Linked DNA regions of Homo sapiens: region 2 is linked to region 1. The links are contacts of gene promoters, found by promoter capture Hi-C in human tissues and cell types (Jung and others, 2019). All regions are on one chromosome and are shown on one strand. The core of a region is centred on a gene start or on the middle of the fragment in contact, and the rest is flanking DNA. Distances in the headings are between cores, read along the strand shown.

The links. The method cuts DNA at HindIII sites, captures the fragments that hold promoters and counts their contacts. A contact is called where the count stands out against the background at its distance.
Region 2: a fragment that was not itself captured here is called in contact with the fragment with the promoter of CTRB1 in region 1 in 3 of the 25 tissues and cell types used here (lymphoblastoid cells, mesenchymal stem cells and stomach).

What each region holds. Positions count from the first base shown.
Region 1 is chr16:75,215,339-75,221,065 of GRCh38, reverse strand. CTRB1 (chymotrypsinogen B1) reads right to left here and starts at 2,078. Exons shown (of 7, transcript NM_001906.6): 1 at 2,007-2,078. The coding sequence starts at 2,058. RefSeq lists an enhancer at 2,461-2,540. The HindIII fragment of the contact is 13,252 bases long and covers 584-5,727 here.
Region 2 is chr16:75,468,733-75,474,459 of GRCh38, reverse strand. It overlaps CHST6 (carbohydrate sulfotransferase 6), which reads left to right. Exons shown (of 3, transcript NM_021615.5): 3 at 1-2,408. Among named protein-coding and RNA genes, the nearest start is that of TMEM170A, 6.9 kb to the right of the region's middle. RefSeq lists an enhancer at 2,169-2,811. The HindIII fragment of the contact is 5,677 bases long and covers 400-5,727 here.

The DNA of each region.
Region 1 (5,727 bases), core at 829-3,328:
AGCATCAAAAACTGGTATTGTAATAGCAAAAAAATGAGAAAGAGCACGTTGGAAGGCCGAGGCAGGTGGATCACAAGGTCAGGAGTTCAAGACCAGCCTGGCCAATATGATGAAACCCTGTCTCTACTAAAAATACAAAAATTAGCTGGGGTGGTGGCTCATGCCTGTAGTTCCAGCTACTCAGGAGGCTGAGGCAGGAGAAATGCTTGAACCTGGGAGGTGGAGGTTGCAGTGAGCCGAAATCATGCCACTGCACTCCAGCCAGGGCGACAAGTGTGAAACTCCATCTAAAAAAATAAATAAATAAATAAGAGAACTAGATGGTGGCATACTCACACAACAGAGCACGCATTATAAAAATGCAGGTGAATGAGCTGAAACTCCACGTCAACATGCAGGAAGTGAGAAGATTTGAGTAGGGAAAAAGCACATTGTTGTAGAATGGAGGTAGAATGGAGTATTAGTTACATCAGCCAGGCACAGTGGCTCACACCTGTAATCCAGCACCCTGGGAGGTTGAGGTGAGCAGATCACTCGAGCACAGGATTTCGAGACCAGCCTGGACAACATAATAAGACCCCAGGTCGGGCATGGGGGCTCACGCCTGTAATCCCATCACTTTGGGAGGCTGAGGTGGGCGGATCACTGGAGGTTAGGAGTTCAAGACCAGCCTGACCAATATGGTGAAACCCCATCTCTATTAAAAATACAAAAATTAGCCAGGTGTGGTGATGCATGCCTGTAATCCCAGCTACTCAGTAGGCTGAGGCAGGAGAAATGCTTGAACCCAGGAGGCGGAGGTTGCAGTGAGCCAAGATCACGCCACTGCACTCCAGCCTGGGTGACAAGAGTGAAACTCTGTCTCAAAGAAAAGAAAAAAAAATAACAAAAAAAACCTCCATCTCTACAAAACAAAACAAGTTTTTAAACTTAGCGTGCCTGTAGCGCCAGCTACTCGGGAGGCTATAGTGGGAGGATCACTCGAGCCCTTGAGTTTGAGGCTGCAAACTCACACTACTGCACTCCAGCCTGGGTGACAGAGTGAGACCCTGTCTCAAAACCAAAACCAAAACCAAAACCAAAAACAGGATAGAATACCGTTCCATTGATGTAACCTTTTTGAAACCTTATGTATAGATGTATAAAAATATGTAGTACAATTGTATAAGCTCACACTGCAATTATTCATAGAAAGTTCAGAATCAAGCTCACATTCCAGAGAGGGAAGGAGGGAGAAAAGGGAAGCCTGAGTACAATCTGTTTTAGAAATATCTGAAGCAAATGTGCAAAAAGATTTGCTGAATTCTGACAGTAGATACAAGGATGTCATATTCTTTTCTGTATTTTCTTTTACTATTTCTCTTTTAAAAAATAGAAAACACGGCTGGGCACAGTAGCTCATGCCTGTAATCCCAGCACTTTGGGAGGCCGAGGCGGGGGCATCACCTGAGGTCAGGAGTTCAAGACCAGCCTGGCCAACGTGGTGAAAGCCCGTCTCTACTAAAAATTAGCCAGGGTTGGTGGTCCATGCCTGTAGTCCCAGCTGCTCGGGAAGCTGAGGCAGGAAGATCATTTGAACCCAGGAGATGGAGGTTGCAGTAAGTGGAGATTGCACCATTGCACTCCAGCCTCGGCAATAGGAGTGAAATTCTGTCTCGAAAAAAAAAAAAGAAAGAAAGGAAGAAAATGCTTGACAAGTACCCAGCACAATAAAAACCCCGGTGGAGGCCTTGGGAGGTCTCCTGGGGCCACACCTTACCCTGCACAAGGCACCCCCACCCCAGCCACTTCTGGAGCCTCAGACCATGGCAGAGACCAGCATCGTCCTTCCCACTCCTGGAGCAGGTTGTGTGGGCTCAGAAAGCCCCAGAATGCACCCTCTCCTGAGCCCTCAGGTTACCTGTGCTGGGGATGAGGCCCCAGGGGGCAGAGCAGGGGACTCAGATCCCCCTCTCAGCCAGGCTCAGGGCTCCCTCAGGACAGACCCCTCGGGCACCAGCACTCACCAAAGGCGGCCCCCACAAGGGAGAAGCAGGAGAGGAGCCAGAGGGAAGCCATGCCGCTGCCTCAGAAGGTGTGGGGCCTGCCAGCTGCGGGGCCCCTTTTACCACCTTGGGGGGGCAGGGAGCCCAGCCCCCCCCGCTCCCCCAGCCAGGGAGGCCTGAGCCCACCCTCCCTGTTACCCAGGGACCTTGGGCAATAAGTGGAGACAGAGCCCCGCCTGGCTCTCTACCAGACAACCCCAGTCCCTGGGAAAGGGGCAGCTGCGCTGACATCACCGGTCAGCCTTGGGGACATGATCCCACAGAGCCAGCTGTGAGCTGCAGTATCCCTGCCAGGAGACGGCACCAGGCTCTTCTGTTCCCAGAGGGGAAGTGGAGGCAGTTCCACCCCAGGGCTCGTGGAGGACCAGCTGCTGTCATGGAACCAGGTCTCCGGGAACTCAGGCTCTCAGTGAAGGGTGTTTCCGCCTAACACTGTCCTAGAAGCAAAGGGTGACTCAGGGCATCGTGGATTCTCCAGAGTGTCACTGCAAGTCACCAGTGAAGCCAAGCCACTTCTGACTGTGGCGAGGGTCTGGGTGACAAGGACCAACCCGCTGGTGGCCGTAACAGGTGGGCAAAGCCACTGACACGCGTCCCACCTGTGCTGTAGAACCCAACAGAATTCACTTTTTCTGCAATGACTCATGATATAAGGAACTAATCATTTCATAAAGTTTCAGTTTCTTACAAAATGGAACTTGGATTCCGCACCATAAAATGACACAGAAAACAAACTTTTTAAGATGGAGTCTCACTCTGTCACCCAGGCCGGAGTGCAGTGGCGCAATTTCAGCTCACTGCAGCCTCCTCTTCCCGGGTTCAACTGATTCTCCTGCCTCAGCCTCCCAAGTAGCTGGGATTACAGGTGCCCACCACACCCAGCTATTTTTTTTTTTTTTTGAGATGGGGTCTTGCTCTGCTGCCTAGGCTGGAGTGCAGTGGCACAATCTTGGCTCACTGCAGCCTCCACCTCCCAGGTTCAAGCAATTCTCCCACCTCAGCCTCTTGAGTAGCTGGGATTACAGGCATAGCACCAAACCTGGCTAATTTTTATATTTTTAGTAGAGACGGGGTTTCACCATGTTGGCCAGGCTGGTCCCAAACTCCTGATCTCGGGTGATCCACCTTCCTCGGCCTCCCAAAGTGCTGGGATTACAGGCGTTAGCCACCGCACTTGGCCAATTGTTGTATTTTTAGTAGAGACAGGGTTTTACCACGTTGGCCAGGCTCCTCTTGAGCTCCCGGCCTCAGGTGATCCTGTGGCCTTGGCCTCCTAAAGTGCTGAAATTACAGGCGTGAGTCACTGCGCCTGTCTGAAAATAAATTTTGAGGAAGCAGAAAAACTTTTTTCATTGTCACAAAACAAGGAGGAAAGACAGGTGTGGGTGACAGGTCGGTGACTGGGCAGAAAGTGAAGGCCAAGGGATCCTCAGCACCCTGTGGGCAGATATTCAGGGGACAGAGCCCGCAGCATCCCTGCCCTTATGGGCCTGAGACGCTCATGACAGACACACACGACACAGATGAGCATGTAATATAGTGACCACAGTCACCTGGGGCAAGGCTGGACAGGACAGGCTGTACTGCATTTCCGGACGATGAGGGTATGAAAGTAAGACACAGTGGGTGGATGGTGTTTCCATGGAAGGCCTTGGGCTCTGTGGTCAGCGGGCCAGGTCACCTTGGCATTTAGAATATCCCCTCCCCACTCCCACCGCTGCTGGAGAATGCACAACTATAAAGCAAAACTAAACTTATATACTAAAGAGAAAATTTCAAAAGTTCACATCACCATGTTACCCTTTTTTTTTCTTTTTCCCCTGAGACAGAGTCTTGCTCTGTCGCCTAGGCTGGAGTGCAGGGGTGTGACCTCAGCTCACTGCAACCTTTGCCTCCCAGGTTGAAGCGATTCTCCTGCCTCAGTCCCCCCAAGTAGCTGGGATTACAGGCGTCTGCCACCATGCCCAGCTAATTTTTGTATTTTTAGTAGAGATGGGGTTTTGCCATGTTGGCCAGGATGATCTCCAACTCCTGACCTCAAGCGATCCAGCCACCTCGGCCTCCGAAAGTGCTGGGATTACAGGCGTGAGCCAGCACACCAGGCTGATAGCTACAATTTAAAGAAACAGAAAATAACAAGTGTGGGATGTGGAAAAACTGGAACCCTCATACATTGCTGCTGGGAATGTAAAATGGTGAAGCTGCTATGCAAACAGTTCGGCATGGCTGGGCACAGTGGCTCACGCCTGGAATCTTGGCACTGTGGGAGGCCAAGGTGGGAGGATCACTTAAGCCAAGGAGTCCAACACCAGCCTGGGCAACAAAGTGAGACCCCATCTCTACAAAAAAATTTAAAAAAAACAACATTAGCTGGGCATGGTGGCGTGGTGGCATAGTCCCGGCTACTCAAGAGGATGAAGTAGGAGGATAACTTGAGCCTGGGAGATCGAGGCTGCAGTGAGCCGAGATCCAGCCTAGGCAGCGGAGCAAGGCCTTGTCTCAAAAAAAAGAGTAAAAAGAAGTGCAAAGAAAACAGTTTGGCAATTCCACAAAATAAACAGAGTTACCTCATGACCTGACAATTCCACTCCCCCTAAATAAAAGGACTTAAGCAGACACTCGCACACCAGTGTTCACAGCAGCACTATTCCCAACAGCCAAAAGACAGAAATCACCCCTGTTGTTCATCAGCAGAGGAATGAGTAAGACATGAGCTCTCCACAGGACTATTATTCAGTCATAAGAAGGAATGAAGCAGGCCTGGTGTGGGGGCTCACACCTGTAATCCCTGCACTGTGGGAGGCCAGGAGTTTGAGGACCAGCCTTGGCAACAAACACCCCGTCTCTACAAAAATTTTTTTCTTAAATCAGCTGGGTGTGGTGGTATGTGCCTGTGGTCCCAGCTACATGGGAGTCTGAGGCAGGAAGATCGCTTGAGCGCAGGTGGTCAAGGCTGAAGTGAGCTGTGTCTGTGCCACTGCATTCCAGCCTGGGCAACAGGGCGAGACCCTGTCTCAAACACAAACACAAAAACAAAACAAAATGAATCAGGTACTGATATACGCCAAAAGATGGATTTTTTTTTTTTGAGACAGAGTTTTGCTCTTGTTGCCCAGGCTGGAGTGCAGTGGTGCAATCTTGGCTCCCTGCAACCTCCGGCTCCCGGGTTCAAACAATTCTCCTGCCTCAGCCTCCGGAGCAGCTGGGATTACAGGGATCTGCCACCACACCCACCTAATTTTGTATTTTTAGTAGAGACGGGTTTCACCATGTTGGCCAGGATGGTCTCAAAATCTCTTGACTTTGTGAACCACCCGCCTCGGCCTCCCAAAATGCTGGGATTACAGGCGTGAGCCACCACACCCAGCCGAATCTAAAATGATGTCTGCTACCTGAAAATAAGCAATACAAAGACAATTATTGCATGATTCCATTTATATGAAACCTTTTTTTGAAAAACTTTTTTGTGAGCCACCACGCCTGGCTGACTTGGAGTGTCTCATCTTTATTTACTTTATTCTTGAAACAGAGTCTCACTCTGTCGCCCAGGCTGGAGTGCAGTGGCATGATCTCGGCTCAACTGCAACCTCCACCTCCCAGATTCACCCCATTCTCCTGCCTCAGCCTCCTGAGTAGCTGGGATTACAGGCATGCGCCACCACACCCAGCTAATAAATGAAAC
Region 2 (5,727 bases), core at 1,989-4,488, 250 kb before region 1:
TACAAAGTTAAAAAAAAATTAGCAGGGCATGGTGTCGTGCACCTGTAGTCCTAGCTACTTGGGAGGCTGAGTTGGGAGGACTGCTTGACCCTGGGAGGTTGAGGCTACATTGAACCATGATCATGCCAGTGCACTCCAGCCTGAGTGACAGAGCAAGACACCTATCTCTAAATAAATGACCCCATCTGTGGTATTGTTATAGCAAAACAAAACAGATTAAGAGAGACTTTTTAATGAAAAGACAGATTCACAAAGAAAAACAATGTTTTTGTTTCTGTTTTTTTGAGGCAGAGTCTTGCTCTTGTCCCCCAGGCTGGAGTGCAGTGGCGCCATCTTGGCTCACTGCAACCTCCGCCTCCCAGTTTCAAGCGATTCTCCTGCCTCAGCCTCCCGAGTAGCTGGGATTACAGATGTACACCACCACGCCCGGCTAATTTTTTTTGTATTTTTAGTAGAGATGGGGTTTCACCATGTCGATCAGGCTGGGCTGGAACTCCTGACCTCAGGTGATCCACCTGCCTTGGCCTCCCAATGTGCTAGGATTACAGGCATGAGCCACTGTACCTGGCGAAAAACAGTTTGTTAACACAGGCAGCCAACATCACTCAGGATAAGCCTCAATGAAAAGTAACAAAGTGATGGCTTGGAACACTGTCTTACACAGCATTTTTAAAAAATACAATAAATTTGTAGAGATAGGATGACCAAGGACAACAGTTTTAGGCTTCCAAAGGTGGTAAACTATGGGATGGTAAATATCCGAGAGGAAGCTGATGCAACAGGATTTGTCTGCAGCAGCCTCTGGTACCACCTCTGAGTCAAGGGTTGTGTCCAGTGATGGAGAGTTTATATCGTGCCTTTAGGCAGAAAAGGGGAGGGAAACCTGAACTTTTCCTGCACTTTCTGCTTCTTAATTGCCTTCAGCTGAAAATCATTTTTTATGTGAAAAAGGCATAGTCTGAGCTGACGCCTCTGCTTTCCTCCACCTGAAGAGAACCTGCGTGCTGCTCCTTTGCTTCGGACCTCCGCCTCTGCCCGGGAGAAAGCCCAGGCCAGCCTGCTGGACAAGCAGAGACCATGAGAAGGAGAGTTCAGGGGTCCCAAACCAGGCCATCCTAGACCAGCCAGCTCCAGCTGATCCGCACGCAGCCACTTCGGCTACCTTCTACTGGCCAAAGGGAGTCCCAGGGCTCACCCAGATTCAGAGGTGGGGAAACTGAGTCCACCACTTGAGAAGAGTAGCTATAAAGACATATGAGCGAGGCCAGCTGAGCCCAGCACTGCGGCCAAGTCGAAGACTTTAGGAGCAATAAAAGTGCTTATTGTGTTTCAGTCATTTGAGTGTTGTGGTGGTTTGTTACGTAGCATTGCCTAACCGATACACTTGAGAACGGAGGGCTCCTGGCACCTGCAGCTTCCAATTTCCACCAGGGTCCAGGCTCCCTCCCTGCTGGTAGGGCTGTAATTAGTGTCTCCCCTTACCTGTAGGCCCTGTGATGCAGCTAGAAGTGTCTAGGCCCAGCAGTCACCCACAATTAGGGGCAGGCACGCTTGCTGCCTCTGCTCTGGCTGTGGGAGCTCAGAAGGGGCAATCAAAGCACTAGATGGGCTGATGGGTGCATAGAAACAGTGTTGCCTGGAATAGGTCAGAGAACCCACCTATCAAGAGGCTGTTGGGGAATCAATGGTGGGCCTTATTTTTGTTATTTTGCATCAAGAAGATATATTATCCACATCAACACTGTATCAACTCCTCATGGCCACCACAGACCCTGTGTCCCCTAGCTTTGTCTTTGATGTGCCTTTGTCACCCACTCCTACAGACTGCGCCCCACCACTGCCACAACTGCCCCATCACCTCTACAGGGTTAAATCAATGGTTTTAATTTTTGCCTACCTGATGGGTGAAAAATGTTACTTGATGTTTCAGTCTGCACTTCTTTAATTCCTGGGGCAGCTGAACATCTTTTCATGCTTATGACTCAACTGTATTCCTTTTTCATTGTTCAAGGCTGTGCCCATGTTGCTGTTGACTTACCACAGCCTCTTTTGAATATGCTTTGTTATTTTTGTTGTGCAAATGGTTTCTCCTAGCTTGTCATCTGTTTTTTGTTGTTGTTGTTTTGTTAACTTACTTTATGGCATTTTCCCCTCAGGCTTCTTAAAAAAAAAGAAGCTTCATTGAGCTATAATTGATATACAACATCTGCACATAAAGTGTAAAGTTTGATTAAACATTTGTATATACCTGTGAAATCAAATCACCACCTCATCACAATCAAATTTCAAAAAGTTTCACCTAGTTTATCATATTGTTGAATGTGAATCCTTTCCTTATGGCCAGTGGATTTTATGTCTTGTTGAAACGACTTTGTCCTGCTACAGTGATAAAAATGGTCTTCACGCTTGCTTCCAGTACTTTAGTAGTCTAGTGTTTTACGCTTGGATCTAAATTGCATGCAATATTCCTGATCGGTGCGAGTCATCAGTTCTCCCAGCGCCCTCTACTGAATGATCTCACTCATCACACACTGAAACCACCATGGGCTGGAATCTGTCCCTCACCCACAGGCCCACTCCACACCAGTGGATCAGGCGAGCAATTTCTTTAGGTCGAGTGACCCCTATGCTGAGGTCCAGTGGGTTATCCCGACTACCTTCACAAGTTAATGGATTTAGATTTAAGCACCACCTGCCCCCAGCAGATTCTCTTACAATTTAAATATCCTCTCACAGTGCAAATCCTTATTCTGTGAATGACTCTATTCAGACCATGTTCCTTAAGAACCAGAGCTAGGCTGGGTGCAGCTGTAATGCTAGCAATTTGGGAGGCCAAGGTGGGCAGATTGCGTGAGCTCAGGAGTTCGAGACCAGCCTGGGCAACTTGGCGAAACCCTGTCCCTACTAAAAAAAATACAAAAACGTAGCCAAGCGTGGTGGTATGTGCCTGAAATTCCAGCTACTTGGGAGGCTGAGGCATGAGAATTGCTTGAACCCAGGAGGTAGAGGTTGCAGTGAGCCAAGATCGCCCCACTGCACTCCAGCCTGGGTAATAGAGCGAGACTCTGTCTCAAACAAACAAAAAACGAAAGAACCAGAGCTAAAGTCTTGATGAAATGGAAAGGATTGGCCTACTATCCATTTTTCCAAGATGGCAATTCATTCCAGCCAATCGAGCATTTTCTCCTTTGGGAGTAAGACCAGAAAACCTGGCCTGTCCTGCAAGTCTTGTGTTATTCTGCTCCCAGTCCTCAAGAACTCCACTCATTCATTCAACACACATTATGGGTTGAGCACCAACCAGGCACTGGGCTATTATAGGAGCTGGAGATACAGCAGGACCAAAAACAGACAAAAAGCAAAAACCCCTGCCCTAGGCTGGGTGCAGTGGTTCACACCTCTAATCTCAGCCCTTAGTGAGGCCGAGGCAGGTGGATCACCTGAGGTCAGGAGTTCAAGACCAGCCTGACCCATATGGTGAAACCCAGTCTCTACTAAAAATATAAAAATTAGCTGGGCATCGTGGCATGCACCTGTAGTCCCAGCTACTCAGGAGGCTGAGGCAGGAGAATTGCTTGAACCCGGGAGGCGGAGGTTGAATTGAGCCGAGATGGCGCCAAAGGACTCCAACCTGGGCGACAGAGCGAGACTCCATCTCAAAAACAAACAAAACAAAACAAAACAAAACAAAAACCAGCCAGGCGCAGTGGCTCACGCCTGTAATCCCAGCACTTTGGGAGGCCGAGGCAGGCAGATCATGAGGTCAGGAGTTCGAGACCAGCCTGGCCAACATGGTGAAACCCCATCTCTACTAAAAATACAAAAATTAGCCAGGCGTGGTGGTGGTGGTGCACGCTTGTAATCCCAGCTAATCAGGAGGCTGAGGCAGGAGAATCGCTTAAACCTGGGAGGCGGAGGTTGCAGTGAGCTGAGATCGCGCCACTGCACTCCAGCCTGGGCGATAGAGTGTGACTCTCTCAAACAACAACAACAACAACCCTGCCCTTCAGGAACTTGCATTCTGATGGTGGGGAGATAGCTGATGAATAAGCTTAATAAATGGCTACATTATTTAGCATATTAGAAAGTGCCAAGGATTAAAGTAGAGAAGGATCGGGGGATGAGGAATATATGTGTGTAGAGGTGTGAGTTGTAATTTTTAATGGGGTGATCAGGGTAGGTCTCAGTGAGAAAGCGACATTTGAGGAAAGTCTTACAGGAGGTGAGGGAGTATGTTAAGGGCAATCATGGGTAGCCTGTCTGGGAGCAGGAAAGAGCTAACACAAAAGCCCTAAGGAGGGGAGGCATCTGGCTTGTTGAAAGAGCAGCAAGGGGCCAGGGGGTCTGGTGTGCTGGACCGCCTCCTTGGCTTCCTTAGACAGGGCCCAGGAAACCTCCATTTTCTGAGTCCTGCAAGGCTAAATGTCTTTTTTTAACCTGTCAATTCATAAATGAACTAAAGATCGAATTCTAAATTCAAAATAATGTTTCCTAATGTAATACATAATTGATTATGTAACCCTACAATAATTGATTTCTTCCACTTTTTTTTTTTTTTTTTTTTGAGACGGAGTCTCGCTCTGTTGCCCAGGCTGGAGTGCAGTGGCGCGATCTCTGCTCACTGCAAGCTCCACCTCCCGGGTTCACGCCATTCTCCTGCCTCAGCCTCTCCGGTAGCTGGGATTACAGGCGCCCACCACCACGCCCAGCTGATTTTTTTTTTTTTTTTTTTTTTTTGAGACAGAGTCTCATTTTGTTGCCCAGACTGGAGTGCAATGGCACGATCTCGGCTCCTGCAACCTCTGCCTCCCGGGTTCAAGTAATTCTCCTGTCTCAGCCTCCCAAGTAGCTGGGATTACAGGCGCATGCCACCAGGCCCGGCTAATTTTTGTATTTTTAGTAGAGATGGGGTTTCACCATGTTGGTCAGGCTGTTCTGGAACTCCTGACCTCGTGATCTGCCTGCCTCGGCCTCCCAAAGTGCTGGGATTACAGGTGTGACCTACCACACCTGGCCCTTTTTCTTTTTTTTTTTTTTTTTTTGAGACAGAGTCTTGCTCTGTCGCCCAGGTTGGAGTGCAATGGTGCGATCTCGGCTCACCGCAACCTCCACCTCCCAGGTTCAAGCAATTCTCCTGCCTCAGCCTCCTGAGTAGCTGGGATTACAGGCACATGCCACCATGCCCGGCTAATTTTTGTATTTTTAGTAAAGACGGGGTTTCACCATGTTGGTCAGGTTGGTCTCAAACTCCTGACCTCGTGATCCACCCGCCGCAGCCTCCCAAAGTGCTGGGATTACAGGCATGAGCCACCACGCCCAGCGGTTTCTTCCACTTCTAATAGACTCTGCTAGTCTGGGAAATGTACCAAAAAGACAGCATGGTTAAAAGGTCAGTATTTCCTGACCCTTTTTATACTTCCTATTTTTATTTTAGATAGGTTTCTTGGTTGATGCAAAACGCCAATTGTAGTGGTAGGGAACTGGCAGGAGGAAGCTTCCTAAACGGAGGTTTCAAGAGAGACTTCTGTTTCTTTTTTTTTTTTTTTTTTTTTTTGAGACGGAGTCTCGCTCTGTCGCCCAGGATTGAGTGCAGTGGCGCAATCTCAGCTCACTGCAAGCTCCACCTCCTGGGTTCACACCATTCTCCTGCCTCAGCCTCCCGAGTAGTTGAGACTACAGGCACCTGCCACCACGCCCGGCTAATTTTTTTGTATTTTCAGTAGAGAC